4 separate regions of the Homo sapiens genome follow, and all the other regions are linked to region 1. The links are contacts of gene promoters, found by promoter capture Hi-C in blood cells and fetal thymus (Javierre and others, 2016). All regions are on one chromosome and are shown on one strand. The core of a region is centred on a gene start or on the middle of the fragment in contact, and the rest is flanking DNA. Distances in the headings are between cores, read along the strand shown.

Region 1 (3,554 bases), core at 308-2,807:
GTCAGTCCTCTCTGATTTGTAGTGTTCATTACTGGCAGGCTGAGGGAAGCTAGAGAGATTTAGGGGCCAAAGCAGTTCACAAGGTTACATCTACTCAGATAGACCTGGACAGACTAGCCTTAGGGAGACTACTATAGTATGCCAGAATGAACAGCCCTGAAGATGAGCTGGAGTTAGACAGACTTTGGAGGCCGGGTGTGGTGGCTCACACCTGTAATCTCAGCACTTTGGGAGGCCAAAAAGGGAGGATTACTTGAGCCCACGAGTTCAAGACCAGCCTAGGAAACATAGCAAGACCCCTATCTCTACAAAGAATTTAAAAATTAGTGGGGTATGGTGGCATATGCCTGTAGTCCCAGCTACTCCAGAGGCTGAGGTGGGATAACCACTTGAGCCTGGGAGGTCACGGCTGCAGTGAACCGTCGATCATGCCACTGCACTCCATCCTGGGTGACAGACCCCATCTCAAATAATAATAATATAAGACAGACTTTGGGAAGGAAAGGAGGAAGATACAAGTGGAAGCCAAGGACTCTGTTCTCACTTGTAAACTGTTTTTGATATTCAGGCTCTTGCTTGAGCCAGTTCATACTGGCTCTGGGTGGAGCGCCCATTCAGTCCTCATTACCTTTCATTAATTCCTTTCTTCATCCCATCTTTGATTTTTCTCTAGATTTAGCTCGATCACAGCACATCCAGAGCGCTGGGATGTGTCCTTCTTCACGGGGGGACCGCTCTGGGCTCTGGACTGGTGCCCAGTGCCAGAGGGGGCAGGAGCCTCGCAATATGTGGCTCTTTTCTCCAGCCCTGACATGAATGAGACACACCCACTGAGCCAGCTTCATTCGGGTCCTGGGCTGCTCCAGCTCTGGGGCCTTGGGACCTTGCAGCAAGAAAGCTGGTGAGGTGGGGTTGGACACTGCCATGGGAGGGTGGTTGAGGACAGCAGGATGGGGTCTGGACAGGATAGGGGGAAGGGCTTGGATTGGGCTGAGACAAGGGGAGCTTACCTCTGGCAGCCCTGCGTCCCTTCTTCCTACCCACCATCCCCACATGCTCTCTCTCTCCAGTCCTGGCAACAGGGCCCACTTTGTCTATGGGATTGCTTGTGACAACGGCTGCATCTGGGACCTCAAGTTCTGCCCCAGTGGAGCATGGGAACTTCCAGGCACCCCTCGGAAGGTACTTCCCAGTCAACTGTGGGATGGCCCTAGGACTCAAAGCCAGGACAAAGAGGCCCTGGGAATTCTTAGAGTTGAAGGAACGAAGGTTGGAGTGTAGTGGATGGAGTTTTTCCAGCAACTTCATACAGTATTTCAGGGACTAGAACCTCAAAGGTTTTCTGTGAGTCAGCTGAAGGCAGCAAGCCTCAGCATACCTTTTACCCTTTAGGCTCCTCTCCTGCCCCGGTTGGGTCTCTTGGCTCTGGCCTGCTCAGACGGGAAAGTACTGCTATTCAGTCTACCCCATCCGGAGGCCCTGCTGGCTCAGCAACCCCCAGGTGAGTAGCACAGCAAGGAGAATGGGGCTGCTGTAGTGGTGGTCACAGCATAGCAGGGCCTGTCTGTCTCCCTGGAAACTCCTCTGGGCCAGTCTCTCTTAGCACAAAGCCTTACTCAGCCACACACACACCCTGCATTGTGACTCAGGTTTGTTCTTGAGCCCTCTCTCTTTTGCAGTCTTACAGCTGTACTCTTTCAGCACATTTCCTTTTATCTCCCCCTTCTTCCCTCTTCTGTGCTCTCAAGACTTTCCCCCTCTTGCTGCCACAGGTAACTGGCTGTGTAAAGAGCTGCTGAGGGCTTGGGCTGATAGATAGGGCCCATCTCCCCTGCTATACTCTTGTTCCCCCAATCCTGTTCTTAGCCTCTCCTGCCCTCACCACCACACAAACACAATCTCTTGTTCTGCTGAAGAGAGGGATGGAATAGAGAGCTGAAGATGAGCAAAAGGAGGGAGGAGTCAGGAAAAGGCAGCTCCTATATGTTGAATTTATTTTTCATTAGTACTGAGTATTTAAAGAAGAGGGCACCCAGGCTGGAGCCCTGGGAAGTCCCATATGTGGTGGTCTGGTGGAGTGGGTTGAGGAGGTAATAGAAGGTCAGAAAGTAAAGATAGTAAATATAGACCATTCTTTCAAGAAGTTTGGCTGTGGGGCTGGGCATGGTGGTCCATGCCTTAATTCCAGTACTTTGCGAGGCCTAGGTGGGAGGATTGCTTGAGCCTAGGAGTTTGAGACCAGCTGGGGCAATATAATGAGATGTCGTCTCGACAAAAAAATTTTTAAAAGTAGCCGAACATAGTGGTGCATGCCTGTAATCCCAGCTACTTGGGAGGCTGAGGTGGGAGGATCACTTATGCCCAGGAGGTTGAGGCTGCAGTGAACTGAGATTGTGCCACTGCACTGTAGCCTGGGCGGCTTAGTGAGATGCTGTCTGAAAAAAAAAAAAAAATTTCGCTGTGAAGGGGAACCAGTAATTGAGGGTGGTGGATTGCCTAAGTGTGGTCAATAAAGGAAGGTTTTGTCCCTTTATTTGGATAGGAGACATTAGGGCATGTTCACATAGCAATATGGGAGTGACCTAGACTAGGGAGGGAACAAGTGGATGACACAGGAGGAAGGAGGATAACAGAATGAGCAGTGTTCTGGAAAAGGTGCTAGAGGATGAGAAGAGAGTAGAGTGAAGGGATTGCTCTTCTGATAGGAGGAAGGATACTATCAGGTGTAACAGAAGGAAAGAAGATGGGAACAGATAGAGGTAGGTTCATAAATTTGGTGATGAAAAGATAAGGACTTTCTCAATAAAGGATAAGGGAATGTCATTATTCAAAGGATTGGTTGCTGATTTAAGAGAAGGCCTGTGTCCACAGAGGAGGTCTAAAGGAAAAAAAAAAAAAGGCAAGGCCTGGCTAGGCATGGTGGCTCACACTTATAATCCCAGCATTTTGGGAGGCTGAGGCAGGAGGATTGCTTGAGCCCAGGAGTTGGAGGCTGCAGTGAGCCATGATCATGCCACTGCACTCGGGCCTGGGTGACAGAGTAAGACCTGCTGAGTCCTTGGGATCCATAGAGTTAGTTCCTGCTCTTTTTCCTCACAGATGCAGTGAAGCCTGCCATATATAAGGTGAGTGAGGAACCTGCTACCTTAGCTGAGGCTCCATCTTCTTAGAGCCTCACCTTGCTGATTCCACAGTGAGTCTCCTTATACTTCTGAAAAATACCCTCATCCTGCTGGATTAAGCACTGATTTGAGCTTTCGTTCCAAACAGTGTAGGTGTCCCTAACCCTAGTCCCATCTCTTCTTTCCCTGCAGGTACAATGTGTGGCAACTCTGCAGGTGGGGTCTATGCAAGCTACAGACCCCTCTGAGTGTGGTCAGTGCCTTAGCCTGGCCTGGATGCCTACCAGGCCCCACCAACACCTAGCTGCTGGATATTATAATGGTAAAAAAACCAAAATAAAACATAAGGAACTATTGCTCTTTAAATTTTTTATATATGCTTGTTTTTTGGTTCTTTCTTTGGTGGTTCAATACTGGACATATAGTTAGAAA
Region 2 (3,554 bases), core at 430-2,929, 380 kb after region 1:
AAGGTATTTAAAAGGGAAATCAAATTTTAAATGTAGTTGAAAATGTTGTAAGGTGTTCAAGTTCATAAATGGAATCAAAGTCACCTTAAAAGCAAATGATAGAATTTGGTAGGGTTACAGCTTCTAATGGAACAATGAGGTCTACGAGGCAAACTGAAAAAGCTTAGAAAAGCATTTGCAGGCCTTCCCCACCCTGTGGCATCCCCGGCTACTGAGACTCATCAAGCCTCCAAGAGCTGTGTGAAGACGCTGGGCTTGTCATGCAAACCCCTAAGTCACCACCCACTGTGGAAGGACCCATCTTCCGCATCTCTTACAATGCCATGTCTTGTCTTTCAGCAATGGAAAAATTTTTAACTCCTGGACAGGCACAGTAATAGCCCAATGAATGTATAGGTATACAGAAAGTGACCATGTAATTTATTATACAAACCAGGACATGTTTGACAGTGAAAGTGGACACTGTTAATAATTATTCTGGGGCAATAGACTTAAACCAGGATTGCCCTGAGCAAACCAAGACATCTGGTCCCTCTAGTTCTAAATGTATGGTTGTAAATCCAGAAGGGAAAGTAAAGAACTCACTTTCCATCATAAGACAGTACCCAGTGTCAGCAAAATGCCAGATCCTTTACTGTTCTACTGGGAAAGCTCTAAGAGCCCTTTCAAATGTCTGTTGTTACAACACTGTCAAATAGCCTGTTATTAACTTAGGACTCTAAGGTCTACCAGCCCCTACATATCATGAGGTTTCTTCTTCACACCTGGGTGTCATGAGACCCTGTGTCTTCCACTGACTAAAAAGCAATTTTTTTTTTTTTTTTGAGACAGTCTCGCTTTGTCGCCCAGGCTGGAGTGCAGTGGTGTGATCCCACCGCCACGCTCGGCTAATTTTTTGTATTTTAATAGAGACTGGGTTTCACTGTGTTGCGCAGGCTGGTCTTGAACTCCTGAGCTCAGGCAATCCTCCCGCCTTGGCCTCCCAAAGTGCTAGGATTACAGGCGTGAGCCACTGTGACTGGCCGACCACAATGCAATTCTTAGCGTTAGTCTCTACCGGTGTACAGAGGTCAGTCTGTAATTCTGAGTTAGAAAATAGAGGCTGGTGGCTGCCTAGCTGCTGACTGGTGTGGTTTCTCCAAATCCGGATTCTCATAAATGATCAAGCCTTATTTTAAAGTCTGAGTCTGTGGTCTTTGATTTTTCTACAACTACATACATAAAAAGGCACCCTATGTCTTCCTGGGTATCTTTTATTTTTTCCCTGTAGACTGCCTGATAGACGCCTTGTGCCAAATGTGTGGTCATATTATTTTTTTCATCCAAACCCAATGGATTTTTGGCAGTTAACCCAATTCTGGTGTGCTCTCCTGTTGTGGGAAAACAGGGTAACAGACACTTTGGCCCAATACATTGCAGGGACTCGGCATCCATCTCAAGCTGGCAAATCCATCTCAACCTTCGAATTTTAATGTTAAGAAATAAGTACAGTGACCACATAGTACTAGAAGCCACAGTTTATTTTTATTTTTATTTTTTTTGAGACAGAGCTTCACTCTTGTTGCCCAGGCTGGAGTGTAATGGCGCGATCTTGGCTCACTGCAACCTCCGCCTCCCGGGTTCAAGCGATTCTCCTGCCTCAGCCTCCTGAGTACCTGGGATTACAGGCATGCACCACCACACCTGGCTAATTTTGTATTTTTTTTAGTAGAGACGGGGTTTCTCCATGTTGGTCAGGCTGGTCTGAAACTCCTGACCTTAGGTGATCCACCCGCTTCGGCCTCCCAAAGTGCTGGGATCACAGGCATGAGCCACAGCACCCGGCCTTAGAAGCCACAGTTTTACCCTTTAGTGTGAAAGAGTTTAATCAGATAATCCTCCTAACATCTGACTGAGCTCTAGAGGGAAGGTAGAGGGGTCTCAATGCAATGGATGGGGTTGAGACTACAGAGGGCCAACTCCAAAAGCGGGGTTCTAGACAGCCGGAGAGCAGCTGGAAGGTCCTTCAAAGGCATATTGGCCTTGGGACAGCGCTTTGTCTTGTGATTTTTTTTTTTTATGAGGCCATCGTTCCATCAGCCAAACGTTCTGCCGAGTGGAGAGGTGGCTATGGGCTTCCAAAATGGTAGCCAAGAGAATACGCGACTATAGGTAGATGGAGTGAGTCTAGTTTTTTTCCCTTTTGCATCTAATTCTTCCTCCTAATTATTTCAGATAATTTGGCAACCTTGTCCCTGGAAATCTGGCACCACTGGGGCTCCTGTCTCTCAGAATTAAAAAAAAAAAAAAATCCAGTCTCTGCACAAGCCTCCCAGTGAGCTGCCACCCAATAGGAGAGACAGATCAAAGCTGCCTTTTCTTAGCAACTGAAGCCTTGCCCAGCCACCGTAGAAGAGATCTCTGCCAAACTCCCTCCTCTTTGAAGAAACACAACAGAGTCCAAGTGAGAAGTAGCTACAGTTTAATACAAACCTGCACCAGAACACAACGTGTCGGGCTGTTTAGTTTTTGCCTCAAACGGTGGCCAAAGCACAGGACCATGTGTCGTCTTGGGGTTGACACAGTCTTAGCACCATGACATTTACAGGGGAGTGGGGAAGTCACCTGGGTGCTGGGGTGCTGGAGGCTCCATCCGACCCCAGGCTGTGCCTGCGCCTCAGCAGCTGGAGGGGGTTTGGGTTTCCTTGTGGTTCTGTGGCTTCTGGGTCAGTATCAGAAAAGCCCTCATCACGACATCGGCTTGACAGAGACCTACTGTGGACTCCTAGCACTACACACACGCACGCACACGCACACACAGTAGCACAATTTTCTGGCAACTTAACCCCACAAACCTAGAGAGCAGCTAAGGCAAGAACAACAGTATTTATTCAGCAAGTACAAGACCAGTTTGAGAGCTGCATTCAGTGCAACCAGAGACCCTTTCGTTCCAACCAGGAGCCAGTGGGGCTGGTGACGAAGCTGGCTGGAGCTCTGCACGGGGCAAGGAGTGCATGGTGGGGGCTGACCGCTCATTTGGCTCCTTGAATCTCTTTCTGATTTCTATCTAGAAGCTCCCGGGCAAGGGTAGGGCCTATGTAGGGACTGGGGGTGGATGAAGCGCATGGCCTACAGTGGACCACTCCAAGACGTGGTTCCCTGGTGCCACGGGTCACACATCTCTCAGGCGGAGGCACTCAGAGAAGGTAAAGCTTTCCTAGCCCAAGCAAGGATGCTCTGCCCAGCTGGCCACCACCGCTGCTGCTGGGCTCTTTGACATCTGCCCAAGGCCCATGACCCAGTGAGGGCTGACAGGGATAGAGATGGTGTGCACTGCACCAGGAGGCGGCGTCATGGTTTCCCCCATCCCTGGTGGCTTTCCCAGGCCTGGGTCCTCACCCCTGTTCCAATGGCTGCCACTTGCCATGAGCCCCTTCGCCACCTCTGCTCCCCGGCTGACCACCTCTGTCCTCTCAGCCCCTGAGTGAGGAAAGGGGGAGTGAAGGGAGAAGTGAGGGTGTGGACGCAGCTCACACTGCACGGTTAGCCCCCAATGGGTGACTAGTCTTGGCTCA
Region 3 (3,554 bases), core at 687-3,186, 300 kb after region 1:
TCAAGAGGAAAACAGAGGGCCAGGCGCGGTGGCTCACGCCTGTAATCCCAGCACTTTGGGAGGCCAAGGTGGGCGGATCACCTGAGGTCAGGAGTTCAAGACCAGCCTGGCCAACGTAGTGAAACCCCATCTCTACTAAAAATACAAAAATTAGCCAGGCGTGGTGGCAGACGCCTGTAATCCCAGCTGCTTGGGAGGCTGAGGCAGGAGACAGAGGTTGCAGTGAGCTGAGATCACACCACTGCACACCAGCCTGGGCGACAGAGGGAGACTCTAACTCAAAAAAAAAAAAAAAAAAAGAGGAAAACAGAGGACAAGACAGAAAATGAAAGATCAGTATTTCCATAGGACAGAGAATCATAACCAGTTTCTCCATCTCCTCCCTGGTGTTCCTGGGTCTTCAAGGCTTTCCTCTTACCAATCCATGTTTCCCTATAAATTTTCCATTTCCTTTCTATTCTAAGTGCAGGCATTCTGTTCCCCTGGGGTTTCCATCTTTTCCTGAACTCCTCTCAACCCTTAAAGTGTTTCAAATCCCATAGGATCTCAGCTGCCCATCCACCTCCCCCTCCTCTCATCTTCTCTAAATCTCAAGCCCCCATTCTTTCTGCGTCTCATGTCTAGGCACACTCACAGCTTTCAGTGCTTCCTCCAGGCTGCGGAAGCGGCCCTGCTTCTGGTTTTGGTTGGGAGGAGTTGCCACCTTCTTTGGCTGCTTCTTGTTCCCTGGTTTCTTAGGTTCCACAGCAGGGGGTGGGACCTGCTCCTTATTCTGCCGCTTCATGATATTCTCAAAGCCCCGCTCATAAAGGGTGCTTGTGGTCTGGATTGCAGCTGGGGTGAAGATAGGTAGAGAAAGGCAGGCCACCCTTGAGTCCCCAAGGCCTCACCTATCAGTGGTCCCTTTCCCCACACTGCCACCTAATTCATCTCCAGGGAAGAGCCTGTCTCAAAGCCCCTTCCTCTTGGACTGCTTAAGGAGCAGGGCAGGCTGTTCTCCTGGTAGCTTCTTTCATTACAGCTCTTGAGTCTATGGGCTCTTTCATAAAGATGGGGCAGTTCTTCATTAGACAAATCAGAGTATGTAGGAACAAGCAGAGAGGTTGGATATAGAGGTTTGCCTTATTCAGTGAGTGGCTACTAGTCTGGGAAGACAAGCTTTTTCCATCTTGGTCCTACCCTAACGCCTCTTGGTTCCGACATGACAACTCTATAATCAACAAGTGGCAATCTTTCTCCACTCCTCAGTGGAAGAACCAGGTGTCACTTATAATTCCTGGTGAGTGTTGAGTGTGTGGCGGTCATTTCTCCCACTGCTGGGCCTCCTGTCCCTTCCTCCATGACCTGCTGGTTACTTAAAGAGGGGGCACCGTGTATAATGATCCACAGTACCTCTTCAAAGCTCAGACACCTGCCCAGAGAGACCAGCTAGGGCCCTGGGCAGCTGGGAGAGTGTGTGCAGTGAACTGAGAGTCTGAGGACCGGAATCCTAGCCCCTCTGACACATGACCCTGGCCAAGGTATCCAACTTCACTGGGCCTCAGTTTACTCATCTGGGAGGTGAGGACCGCAACCTTCCCTGGAGCTGTCTGCCTCCCGTGAGGCTCCAAAGAGACAACGCAAGCGTGGCGCTCGGGGATGTGCCTGCGAGCTCGCGCCCAGGTTCTGGGAGCCGCTCGCTGCGACCCTGCCGGACAGGCCTGGGGTAGGCGGCGGGGCAGGGCGGGTACTCACGGGTCAGGTCGTATTTCCACACTCCGTTTGCTTCCCCGAGCGCCCTGCGGTTCCTGCCGCCTCCTCGGCCGCCGGCGCCGGCGCCGACCCCAGGCCGCCGACCCTTCTTCACTACCTCCCACCGCCCCACGCCCGCCGTCTTGGTCGCCATGGCTCGCAGCCCTCCCTCCTCGGCCACTTCCCCGGCTTTCCGGTCCGGCGCGAGCGCGCCGCACTCTGCCACGTCTCCTCGCAGGACCGCGCGCCCGGCGCCCGGCGCCCGCCGCAAGGCAGCCTGGGACTTGTAGTCCCTCTCCTGGGCCGGGCTCTCCTGAGCGAAGAGCATCGGGAAGAGGCTTCCGCGGCAGCCTGCGGCCCCCGCCCAGGCGAAGAGGCCGGGAGGAGAGGAGATTCCCTTCTGAGAACGTTCATTGAGCGTCGATGTGAAGGCCACGGCATTGAGAGACTTGGTAGAACTGTTTCTGTTTTTCTTTCCTTTATTGATCAATTGATTGATTGATTGCCAGGGCCGCGCTCTGTCGCCCAGACTGGAGTGCAGTAGCGCGATCTCAGCTCACTGTAACTTCCGCCACCCAGGTTCAAGCGACTCTCGTGCCTCAGCGTCCCGAGTAGCAGGGACTACAGGCTCCCGCTGCCAAGCCCAGCTAATTTTTGTATTTTTAGTAGAGACGGGGTTTCGCCATGTTGGCTAGGCTGGTCTCGAACTCCTGACCTAAAGTGACCCACCCCACCCCCACCCCTCAGCCTCCCAAAGTGCTGGGATTACAGGCGTGAGCCACGGCGCCCGGCCACTGTTTTTCTTTCCTTTCTCGTAGAGCTGGAAGGATGGAAGGGAAGTAGTGCTCCTCATATCTAGGGAGAGATTGAAGATTAAATGCTTCCTTCCTTCTAGGAAAGTGCTGGCTTTACTGTTGCTAGTGATTAAACCTCGGGTTTAATGGGCTATACAAATCTATTGCCAAAGAACAAGGAAGAGGATGGGGGCTTGAGGAAAGGGCAGAGTGTTGGGGAGCTGGGGTAGGAGGTGGAGAATGGAGAATAATTTTTTTTTTTTTTTTTGAGACAGGATCTTGCTTTGTCGCCCAGGCTGGAGTTCAGTGGCGCGATCACGACTCACTGCAGCCTCAACTTCTAGGGCTCAGGTGATCCCCCACCACGGATCACCTGACCCACCACCACCCCCGGCTAATCTTTGGTATTTTTTGTAGAGACTGGGTTTTGCTGTGTTGCCCAGGCTGATCTCAAACTCCTGGGCTCAGTGATCCACCCTCTTCAGCCTCCCAAAGTGCTGGGATTACAGGAGTGAGCCACCGCTCCTGGCCTCTGAGTTCTTCTCATGGGAGGCTGAGAAAAGTCTGGGGGTCTGGGACAGCCAGGGCCGGGTTTCCCCTTCCAGGCAATGAGAAAGAACAGGCTCTGCCTCCCACCATAAGAGTCAATCCCAAGTTCCAGATGTGTCAGGGAAGCGATGGAGAGCCCCAGACTTGAGGCATCTGCAGACAGGTTCCTGCTCAGACATCCACGTGGAGGGTGTTAGTATCCTGGGAGCCTTCAGAACCTTGAAGCATGCCAGCAGAGGAGAATGAGGGAAGATAAAATCAAAGTGACTTATCACAATTAAGGAAATGTGCTATTTCATGTACAACTGTGTGTGAGGATGAGATTCCTACCTGCCATACTGAGGTATTATGATAAGAACTAAGAGAGTCCAAATTCCTACAGGATGAACAGCTGAGGGAGCGATGCATTCCTTAGGAAGGAGTTTAGCTTCCCGAAGGAGACGGCAGCTGAGATAGGTTCTGAGAAATAGCATTTTCATT
Region 4 (3,554 bases), core at 744-3,243, 280 kb after region 1:
GGGGTGGGTACACAGCACAGTGGAAGGGAAGGAGGGGCCAGACCTATAATTTGCTCATTGGATGCCCTAACCTTTGTGCCCAGGCTGTTTATTGCAAACGGATTTGGAGCTGTTCCCTAAACTACCGCCAATTTGGGGGCCCTCTTCCATTATGAGGGGCAAAGTGTGTCCTTTCTTTCTGGCTGGTGCCATGAAGGAATTCTCCTAGCAGGAAAGGGGTTTGAATCCCTTCTGTAACCTACAGATCTACTTTTTTTTTTTTTTGAGACGGCATCTTGATCTATTGCCCAGGCTGTAGTACAGTGGCGTGTGATCTCGGCTGACTGCAACCTCTGCCTCCCGGGTTCAAGTGATTCTCCTGCCTCAGCCTCCTGAGCAGCTGGGACTATAGGCATGTGCCACTATGCCCAGTTAATTTTTGTATTTTTAGTAGAGATGGGGTTTCACCATATTGGCCAGGCTGGTCTTGAACTCCTGACCTCAGGTGATCCGCCTGCCTTGGCCTCCCAAAGTGCTGGGATTATAGGCATGAGCCACCGCACCTGGCCAGCTCTTTCTATTAGGATAATGGGAATCATCAAGACCACTACAGTCAGGGTGCTTTTGAGCCCAGAAACTAATAAATCCAATAGAATGAGAAAGACAAGCCCAGAGGCAAAGAATCTGACTCAGAGGTGCTAGGGGATTCTCTGTGATGTGGGGTCAGATATAGTGCCTGTTCATCCTTTCAATACTATTACAGTTGTAGTTATGCTCCTGTTAACTGAGGAAAATAATCATAGTGGTGAGACGGCCATAGTGATGAATATCTCTTCAAAGGACCTTAGAGTCAGGCACTAAGAGTGAAGGCCTTTCCAGACTGTAAGGTTTCTCCCTTTTCCCACTTACACCATGTATTCATACCTGCTCAAATAGTTCCACAGTGTATCTGGAGGGGAAAGCCGGCGGGGGAGGGGGGCTGGCACGCCCATTGTCATGGCAGGCAGCAGGGATGCTGTTTACTGAGCGTCCAGTGTTGTAGTTGCATTCAAGTGTGTAGCTAAGACATAAAGACCTTTATCAGTGTCCCGCCTGAACAGATACCAGGACAGAACCATAGAGGACAACTTAGGTGGTCAAAGGAGGCAATCACTTGGAAAAAAGTGAACACAAATGAAAGTGCTAATAATCCATAGCAACTAGCAGCTGACCTTGGTACTGTACCATATACCCAGAGAGTCCCCCCAAGGTAGAGTCCTAGACTAAAGACAATAATGCTAATTGTGAGGTTCTCTTTTAAGAAGACTAAGGTGGTTCCCTCCCTCTCAAACACCCTGAACTGGGTGTTGTTTTTTGTTTTTTTTTTGAGACGGAGTTTCGCTCTTGTTGCCCAGGCTGGAGTGCAATGGCACGATCTCGGCTCGCCACAACCTCTGCCTCCCAGGTTCAAGCGATTCTCCTGCCTCAGCCTCCTCAGTAGCTGGGATTACAAGCATGCACCACCACACCCAGCTACGGTGTTTTCTTTAGGGAAGCTATTTCATCAACTATATCTCAGCTTCCACCCAACCTGTGGATTATCCCTGAGGCTTTGTAGATTGCAACACGGCCGCTTCCCTCTTTAGACTGGCCATCTCTACGGTCTCGGGCATACATATTCTTCTCTGAGAAATTGCAGCCCTGGAAGTCGAAGTGGGCTGAATTCAAGGAGATGAGCTTTGGATATAGCATGTTTTCCACCTGTTTGGGGAAGAAAAGTCAACTCAGAAGGAGAGACAGAAGGGACAAGGTGCAAGGAAGAGATAGCAAGTATGTGACCATGTGACTTAATACACAGCAGATACCATCACAACCATTAACAGTAATCAGTGCTGCCTGAATTCTCAGTTTGACATTACTTCTAGGTGTTGGGAAGCAATTCTTTTTTTTTTAAGCTTTTAGCTTCCTCCCTCCAACAATGCAAAATTTTCCTTCTCTGGATTCCCAGACTCTAGCAGACTATAATGCAGTTAGCTTTCCTTAATAAAAGGTCATGATGTAACAATTGAGACATTATCCCCCTGTGCCATCTCTTCTTGGCCCTTCAAAGCTTTTTCAGAGGTAGTCTACACAGGCCTTCCTTCCAGAAAGCTACCTAAGGCTATCTTCCTTCTGTTCATGGCCTAACCCCATCTCCTAACCTGTAACACTTCTCACACTCACATGACATTCTTAGGATTCCCACCTGGGTGCTCTCATCACTAAAGCTGTTTCCGTACATGAAGCAGCCCCTTTTGGAAGCATGTCCATGCAGGTCCACATAGTAAGCAACGCCACTCTCTTTGGGGGGGATGGTATCAGGGGCTGACTCTTCAAGCCCCGCAGACTGTTGTGGCATAATCCACACACTGTTGAGCTTCTGTTCTGCTGGCTCTGTTTGTTTCCAGGCTTCAGCGTTATGCCTGTCAGCTGAGTGCCCACACTGAGCTTCATTTTGGAGATTGTTGGCTTTCTCCAGGTCAGAAACAGGAGCATCAGGAGGGAGACAGGAACTGGGCTGGTGCTCAGAGGAACTCTGGGAGTTCAGACGAGAGTGCACATGGTGGTAGAGAAGCACAGCTTTGGCCCCATAGATGGCCGGGTGCAGGACGGCATCAGGCTTCAGGTACTGACGGTTCAGATTCACTCCACGTGAGTCTGTGCTGTAGGAAAACAAGGACTGAAGCAGGTTCTAGAGGACTGGGCCAGTGAAGGAGACACTAGTGTAGATGAAAAGGAGACCGTAGGAGACTGACTTATCAAATGAGAGGCTGAAGCTATGTTAGGAAAGAAAGAATTGAAGACAGGGCCTCTCTTTGATCTGCTGTCACCCTTACCATAGAACCCTAAGGAGCTTCCTCAGGGTAGCTGCCTCCACCCAGATGGGCCTGCAGTCATCCTAGTTTGGTTCCTTTCTGGGAGTGCCACTAGATATGATCTCATGCTTTCTCAGGAAGATGAGATGGGCTTGCCTTTATTAGGGTGCAAGAGGACTGGGAACACAGAAGCCAGAAGGCTGACAGAATTTCACTGAGATGCAGGGCATGAGGGGAAATGGGAACAGTCCAGACAGGCTGGGGAAGCCACTTACCGGTAGTGTCCCCGGACCACACCATCGGGGTTCAACATGGGAATCAGCTTAAAGACGAAGAGGCGACGGAGGGTTTGGGCCCGGGGATCATCAGGTCGGAGGATGAAGTCCAGAAAGCCATTGAAGACAAAGCTAGATGGAGTCTCCCCTGGGTGTACTCTACTGCTTAAGAAGAATATCTGAGGTAGAGAGGAGAGCAGACATTAAGTCAGTTACCCTGTAGTTCTACTTTGACAGTATATGGGGGGTGTCATGGATGAGGCAGGAATAGCCGCTGGATTTCCAGCTGGCTGAATCTGCAAGTGGAGCAGGGGCCATCACCCTTGCCGCACGCTGCGGGCGGAGGCCATGTCCAAGATGCCTAGAGATAACATAGTCTTTAGCTATAAACAGTACCTGGTGCTAGAGAAAAGCCAAAGAACTACCTTTATGCTATTTCCACTCACCCTCTTGCCTGCGAAACGGA

What was found. The method cuts DNA at HindIII sites, captures the fragments that hold promoters and counts their contacts. A CHiCAGO score of 5 or more calls a contact.
Region 2: a fragment that was not itself captured here is called in contact with the fragment with the promoter of GTF3C2-AS1 in region 1 in 1 of 17 cell types (naive B cells); the score reaches 5.0 in naive B cells.
Region 3: a contact is called between the fragment with the promoter of TMEM214 here and the fragment with the promoter of GTF3C2-AS1 in region 1, in 5 of 17 cell types (naive B cells, non-activated CD4 T cells, total B cells and 2 more). The highest score is 7.2, in naive B cells.
Region 4: a contact is called between a fragment that was not itself captured here and the fragment with the promoter of GTF3C2-AS1 in region 1, in 1 of 17 cell types (naive B cells). The highest score is 5.0, in naive B cells.

Annotation. Positions count from the first base shown.
Region 1 is chr2:27,333,545-27,337,098 of GRCh38, reverse strand. It overlaps GTF3C2-AS1 (GTF3C2 antisense RNA 1), which reads right to left and starts at 1,557. Exons shown (of 4, transcript NR_038427.1): 1 at 1,379-1,557; 2 at 629-807. GTF3C2 (general transcription factor IIIC subunit 2) reads left to right here. Exons shown (of 19, transcript NM_001035521.3): 8 at 674-901; 9 at 1,071-1,182; 10 at 1,393-1,501; 11 at 3,100-3,125; 12 at 3,315-3,444. The HindIII fragment of the contact is 18,359 bases long and covers 1-3,554 here.
Region 2 is chr2:26,949,242-26,952,795 of GRCh38, reverse strand. DPYSL5 (dihydropyrimidinase like 5) reads right to left here. Exons shown (of 13, transcript NM_020134.4): 13 at 2,445-3,554. LOC124905979 (a long non-coding RNA gene) reads left to right here. Exons shown (of 3, transcript XR_007086251.1): 3 at 2,215-2,281. Among named protein-coding and RNA genes, the nearest start is that of MAPRE3, 20 kb to the left of the region's middle. RefSeq lists an enhancer at 2,727-3,227. The HindIII fragment of the contact is 3,029 bases long and covers 165-3,193 here.
Region 3 is chr2:27,031,347-27,034,900 of GRCh38, reverse strand. It overlaps TMEM214 (transmembrane protein 214), which reads right to left and starts at 1,936. Exons shown (of 17, transcript NM_017727.5): 1 at 1,735-1,936; 2 at 635-834. The coding sequence starts at 1,885. RefSeq lists an enhancer at 2,024-2,313. The HindIII fragment of the contact is 3,121 bases long and covers 1,161-3,554 here.
Region 4 is chr2:27,054,788-27,058,341 of GRCh38, reverse strand. AGBL5 (AGBL carboxypeptidase 5) reads right to left here. Exons shown (of 15, transcript NM_021831.6): 5 at 3,535-3,554; 6 at 3,089-3,267; 7 at 2,204-2,660; 8 at 1,550-1,719; 9 at 904-1,039. Among named protein-coding and RNA genes, the nearest start is that of AGBL5, 4.9 kb to the right of the region's middle. The HindIII fragment of the contact is 155 bases long and covers 1,916-2,070 here.